Regions from separate parts of the Homo sapiens genome. Here region 1 is linked to region 2. Evidence: promoter capture Hi-C in 16 types of primary human blood cells and fetal thymus (Javierre and others, 2016). All regions are on one chromosome and are shown on one strand. Each heading gives the region's core, a stretch centred on a gene start or on the middle of the fragment in contact. The rest is flanking DNA. Distances are from core to core; before and after follow the strand shown.

Region 1 (3,312 bases), core at 813-3,312, 310 kb after region 2:
ATCGGGAGGACCCCCTTCCCTCTGCCTTGGCCCCCAGGTGCCCCATTCCCCAGGTAGCAGCAGTGGGGCTCCCTTTAACCACCCCCAGTTGGGAAGGAGGCACCTGGGGAATGGAATGGACATCCAACGGGGAGAGGGAGGTAGCGGTGGGCTCTACAAAGAAGGCACCAAGGGCGGTGGGCTGAGACCCCTCAGAATCTGGAGAGGCTGGAGCCTGGGCAAGCCGATGACCAGCATGGCCACACAGTCCAGAAGGGTGAAGGTCCACGCCATGGCCCTCCACCAGAGGTCCTGGGACCAGGAAGGCTCCCTGGAGGCACCATGAAGGAAGACAGATCTTGGCTGGGAGGTGGAGGGCTGTTTCGACCTAGCCAGGGGCTACGGGTCCAGTCAAGGCACAAGCTTTGTGCCTACCAGGGTCTCCCACTGGAGCATAATCTTAAGGATCAGGATGCATGGGAATGTGTGAAACCAGGGAGAAGGGCTCTGTGGAGGAAAGGGGGTCCCAGAAGTAACTGTCCCAAAGGGTCCTGAGGCCACAGGACACTCCACCCAGCACTGCAGTTCCCTTTGATTGGGGAAAAGTCAAAGGGCAAGGGAGACAGTGAAGGCCAGGTCCTATCCCTTCCCAACTCCACCAGAGCAGCTGCCCACCAAGAGGGGTATCAGTGCCAGGCCAGGCTCCCAGTTCAGGGGGAGTCACAGCCCCCTGTGCTACCTCTACTCTGTCACACCTGGCCCAGGCCCATGGTGAGGACAGGGGCTGCTGAAGGCACAGAGAAAGGGCTGGAGCCAGACATTCTTCACCTACTGTGGGCCACATAGGCCTATCTCCAGAGAGGGCATCGGACCCAGATGGCACCACAGTGTGTGGCCAGGCTGGGTCGTGCTGCATGTGTGCACAGCCAGGCGGCTCAGCCATTGTATTGCTGCTGGTAGCGCAGGTTGAGCTCCCGCAGCTCCCGTTCCCGCACACGGCGTGACTTATTGGAGCGTGTGGAGCGGCTGGAACGCGTGGACTGGGCAGATTTGGTGCTCTGGCAGCGCGAGGAGGCACGTTTAAGGAGGTTCTGGGATATGGAGCGGTGCAGGTTCTTCATGGATGAAGAGGCAGCCATGCTCACCACCCACGGGTGCCTCAGGGCCTGCAGTGCAGTCATACGGGCTCCAGGGTCCACTGTCAGCAGGCGGTCAATGAAGTCCTTGGCCAGGTTGGACACACTAGGCCAGGGCTAGAGACCAAGGACAAGCATTAGAGTGAGAGCATCTGACACTGCCCACCCCATCTGGATGAGGCCACTACTCAGCAACCCTCCCCTTTCCAGAGAGAGGTGCTGCCCCTCCTCTCATGTAGCACTTGGGGCCTCCCCGCCCAACGCTGGCTCAGGCTGAACAAGGGCTGCTCTCCAGGTGATGGAGTCTGGCAAGGAAGGAAAGGACCTGTGCACTCTCCCAGGGAGCAAATTCTATGGTGCACTGGACCCAAAGCCTGGCTCAGGGAGATGGCCTCTGCCAAGACCCCCCCGAACTTGTCCCAGGAGTATCATAACTCAGGGGACTGTTAGAGAATGATTCAAACTTTCCCACCACATCCTAAGTCAGATTGAAGCTCCAATCTCTGGATGACCAGGATCAGGCTACTTAAAGGGGAACTTCCTAGTCCTTACAGAGAAGATCCAACCTCTCTCCAACTGCCGAAGCAGTGGCAGAAGACCACTGCTCCCTGCCTCTGCCTCCCGGCATGGGGAGGAAAGGAAACAATTCAAGGCAACTAGATTTCCCAGTCGGCTGAGGGCAGGCGATCCCGGGACCAGGAAGGAACCAGGACCCTTCTCAGTGGCACCCTCTGGCCCGCATTACTTCTCTAAGCCACAAAGGGCTCCTGGCAGTGCTGTGCGCCAGCCTCATTTTAGTACATTCTGTCCCCTGGGAGGAACTCCATAAAGCCCACTCTGCCACATGCACCCCGGGCTGCCTCATCTCAGCCCCGAACCCAGCAGCTGTCTGTCTCAGGGCCTCAGGTTGTACGGCTGTCTTCACCTGACTGGATCCTCAGGTTCTCAGGGTAAAGGACACTTGCTCAGACTCCCTCTTAGCCCCCAGTGCTTCCAGCAATTATTCCAGCTGTAACGTGAGACTGCAATTTCATGTTCGTTTAGTATTCCCATGAGATCATGCTGAGCTGGATGAGCCCGTGCCTGGTGCTGCGCATACAGGAAGCACTCAGTAGGCACAGGCTCAGACAGTAAACAACCCACGGTGCTGCCGGATGGGTGCCCTTTCCTGGAGCTGCTTCCAGGCCTTGGGGCTCAGCCAGGTGAGTCCTTGCGTCCCTGCATCTCCTAGGAACACTTCTGGCACGGGCTCTGAGGCTCCCCCAAGGATAGGCAGCTAGGACCTTTCCTGAGCCTGCTGCAGATGACTCAACAGGGATGCTAACGATCCCCTCACTTTCCTTCCTGCCAGGTGAGGTCTGCCTGTTCCACCCATGGTACCCTTCACCACCCATGGTACCCTTCACCTTGAGGAACCCCTGAACATGCCCTCCAGGGGGTTCAGGAGGATCTGAGAGACCACCTTCAGGGCAGGTGCACAGCCATCTAGCAGACACACACACTCACTGACTACTGCTACTCCCAGTCTGGCTCGCCTGACCTCCAACTCTTTCCCTACCCCCTTCCCCACTGCCACAGAGGGATGAGGCAGGGAGAACACGCTTCCACCGTCCTGAGGAAGGCCTGGGGCTACCTGCAGCTGCTGTCTTCACCCACTCTTTGGAAGGTTATTCCAAGTTTTACTGAGCTGAAGTGGGAGCAACAGGGGAACCATATTCCCAAACACACCTAACAGGGTCATCCTCATCAGTGGGCCAGCAGCACCCAGTGACTCCTGGGGAGATGCTGGCCCCCAGGAGGAGGAAAGTCAGGGTCCAGGAGCATGCAGCCAACGAAGGCCCATAGATGCCTTACTATCCAAGGGCTGTGGGTGGGCGCAGAGAGCAACAGCCCTCCCCGACAGGCAGGTAAGTCTCCTGGGGGCTTGTGTAGTTCAAGATTCATATTGAGGGCCAGGCGTGGTGGCTCATGCCTGTAATCCCAGCACTTTGGGAGGCTGAGGCAGGTGGATCACAAGGTCATGAGATCAAGACCATCCTGGCCAACATGGTGAAACCCCGTCTCTACTAAAAATACAAAAATTAGTCGGGCGTGGTGGCGTGCCTGTAGTCCCAGCTACTCAGGAAGCTGAGGCAGGAGAATTGCTTGAACCTGAGAGGCGGAGGTTGCAGTGAGCCAAGATCGCACCACTGCACTC
Region 2 (3,068 bases), core at 458-2,957:
GAAGGGCGTGGCCGGAGGAAGGGCCGCCTCCACCAAGCGCAGGCGCCCTACCGGGCGGGAGGGGGAGGAGCGTTACTCGCGGTTGCGCCCCGCCCCGCGAACAAATATTTGACATTCCAGGCTTATCGGGAGGAGGGGCCCGAGGAGCAACGTTCTCCCTTCCCCCGCGCCTGATTCGCTTACCGCTTCCGGGGGAGGAGACGCATGGGCCAGTGCCCGGGTGGGCGGTCCGGAGATGGACAGCCGCGCACCAAGGCCCGCCTCCACCTGTAGGGAAAGTAAAGTGCTACTCGCTCGAACCCGCCGGGCGAAGGAAGCACTTCCCATGCTCTCCCTGTCGCCGTGTCCGGGCGCGAGTCATTTCCGTCCCGGGCGCCTGTTTCTTTAGCTGCCAAGTGGAGCTACGCTGAGCTCTCTCCCCCCGGGCCTCGCCCCTTTCCCGGGCATGAGCTCTGGTGATGCGCCCGGGTGCCCCGCTCTCTCCATTGTCCAGGGGCCGGGCCGCAGCACCCTCCTTGTCCGAAAGCGCGTGGTGCGGCTCCCGTCTCAGTCTCGAGTCGGGCTAGGCAACCGCGTGACTCAGTTCCCGCCACGCTGGAGCCCCCTCCTTCCTGCTGGATTATTCAGTTTCTCAGTCACTTATTCAGTTTCTCAGTCACCTCCCTGGGAGAGTTTGGGAAAGTAAGGAACGGCCGGGAAACGCGCCATAAAGGAGCCTCACCAAGCTCCACTGGGCAAAGGGAGGAATGGGAGCCCCAAATGCGGGGCTGTCAATTGGGTTGTAGGTGCGGGATGGAAAAGGGAGGATCTGCAGCCCGCATGCGCGCACACACGCTCAACGCTAGCCCCCCATCGGCCAGAGCGCTCGCAATCTCCAGGCAGCTTCTCCACCGTCCAGAAAGGGACGAAAGCAGGCAGGCCCCCACACGTGGGGTAGGAGTGAGGCTCCAGGCCCGTTCTACCCCTCTCAGCCTCGTCTAGGGTGCAGCTCTCTGCGATTTGGGGGGTTCCTTTCCCCAGCATTGAGGCCTGCCCACTCCCAACCCACAACGACCGCGCTCTGGCACTTCTCAGTGCCAGGCTAGCGCTCGGCCCTAGCATCTGCGTGGACAAGCCCTTCCCTGTGATCCCTGGTGACCACCCCACAGCTCTAACAACGCTGATGTTCCCGCCGCCCTCCCCTTTCCCAGGTGACTTCTGGTGATCCCCCTACAGGGTGATACCCGGCAACTCTCACCGCCCCCTTGACCCTTTGACTTCCATCAACCCCAGACCTGCCGTGTTGACCCCCACAGCCCCTAGACTGCCTCCTGGTGACTTCCATACTGGAGAAGGCCTCTGTCTTGCACGCTCCTTTGCAGAGGCCTGACGACCCCTGGGGAAGAGTGGGGGGAGAGCGGAAGAATGGGTTAGCCCCCAAAATCAGGCAGGACCAGCCCTGGAAGTAGGAATCCGGATCCTAAGCGTGCGCCCAGGCCGGGAGCGTGAGCTCTTGCGTCCTGGGTTGAGTTCTGGCGGCCCTCCCCCAAGGTTCCCGGAGCCGCCCCGGTCACGTGGCCGGCGGGGCCGGCAGGTAACTCGCCTGGAGAGGGCGTGGGCCGGTAGCCGCCCCGCCCCGCGGGGCGCCACGGGCGGGTCTTGGCAGCGCCCACTGAGCCAGCCGGGCCGCAGGTGCCGCCCCCGATACACGGTGTCCCGCCCAAGCTGATCCGCGTCTGCGGTCGGTCGGTGCGTGCGTGCGCCTCGTCGGTCCGCGTGTCTGGCCGAGAGCCCCCTTCCTCTGCGGCCATGACTCCGCCGCCGCCGCCGCCCCCTCCCCCGGGCCCTGACCCCGCGGCCGACCCCGCCGCGGACCCCTGCCCCTGGCCCGGATCACTGGTCGTCCTCTTCGGGGCTACGGCGGGTGCGCTGGGACGGGACCTGGGCTCGGACGAGACCGACTTAATCCTCCTAGTTTGGCAAGTGGTTGAGCCGCGGAGCCGCCAGGTAGGGTGGAAAAGAGGCGGTGAGGTCCCCAGGGAGCTTCCGGGGTCGAGGGGCGCGGCTGATCGGTTTCCCCCGCCGCTCACAGGTGGGGACGCTGCACAAATCGCTGGTTCGTGCCGAGGCGGCCGCACTGAGTACGCAGTGCCGCGAGGCGAGCGGCCTGAGCGCCGACAGCCTGGCGCGGGCAGAGCCGCTGGACAAGGTGCTGCAGCAGGTGAGCGCCGGGGTGGGTGGCGGCATGGCCTGGACGTGAGGACATTTCTGGGCGGGATTGGCGGCCGGAGGCTAGGCCTGGCGTGCCGCAACCAACCGGTCCAGGCGGCAGGACTGGGCTCTTGTTTGAAACTTTGAGCGACTCTCGCGTGTGCGTGCCCCTTTCATCCGCGCGTGCCAGCCATTCCCCTGGGCTCCTTACTTTTCAACCATTGCAGGAACCTACTCCTACCGAAGGGATCGGGACGCAGGCTTTGGGATCCATCCCCAGTTCCCGCCCGGGGAGCGAGGCCGAGACGCCTTTGGGAGACCTGCTGGGTCAGGTCTCCCTGAGCCGCAGCCGGAAGCGAAAGGGGTCGAGGGGCCCATATAGGTCACCTGTCCTTGCGGCCCGCGTCTTCGGCCTGCTTGGGAGCTGCTGGAGCGGAGGCGTAGGGCGGTGTCGGCCCTAGAGGTAGACGCCGCCAGGTGTAAACTGCTCGTCTAGGCCTGTCCCGGCCGGCTGGCCAGGCGTGGGCGCTGTCCCGGCCTGGCCTGGGGGACTATCTGCCTGCTGAGTGCAAAGGCCTGGGGTGCCTCCTGCCCTAGCTGAAGTGGGAGGTGGTTTCCATTGCTGTTTTCTTTTCCTTATCTTCACTACGGCGCTCATTCTATGTCTGACTCTTGAGTGTAATTAGTGTAAGTCCTTTTTATACACTCACGTTCTTTCATCTTCCAACAACTCTTGTGGTTCCTGATGAGGAGGCACCACGATGATGATTCCTTGTCTGTTCCAGAAGGGCTCCCGGCCCTTCACTTGGGGAGTTTGCTGGAGGAGAGCTGGGTTGCCTTGCTCTGTCAGCCCCAAGTTGTAAAGTGTCACAGAATTG

What was found. The method cuts DNA at HindIII sites, captures the fragments that hold promoters and counts their contacts. A CHiCAGO score of 5 or more calls a contact.
Region 1: a contact is called between a fragment that was not itself captured here and the fragment with the promoter of ESRP2 in region 2, in 2 of 17 cell types (fetal thymus and megakaryocytes). The highest score is 5.6, in fetal thymus.

What each region holds. Positions count from the first base shown.
Region 1 is chr16:67,925,245-67,928,556 of GRCh38, reverse strand. It overlaps PSKH1 (protein serine kinase H1), which reads right to left. Exons shown (of 3, transcript NM_006742.3): 3 at 1-1,232. The coding sequence ends at 915. Among named protein-coding and RNA genes, the nearest start is that of CTRL, 5.0 kb to the left of the region's middle. RefSeq lists an enhancer at 1,084-1,585. The HindIII fragment of the contact is 3,315 bases long and covers 405-3,312 here.
Region 2 is chr16:68,234,766-68,237,833 of GRCh38, reverse strand. ESRP2 (epithelial splicing regulatory protein 2) reads left to right here and starts at 1,707. Exons shown (of 15, transcript NM_024939.3): 1 at 1,707-1,986; 2 at 2,072-2,200. The coding sequence starts at 1,789. RefSeq lists silencers at 1-99, 130-219, 1,530-1,759 and enhancers at 1-331, 332-919, 920-1,508. The HindIII fragment of the contact is 18,011 bases long and covers 1-3,068 here.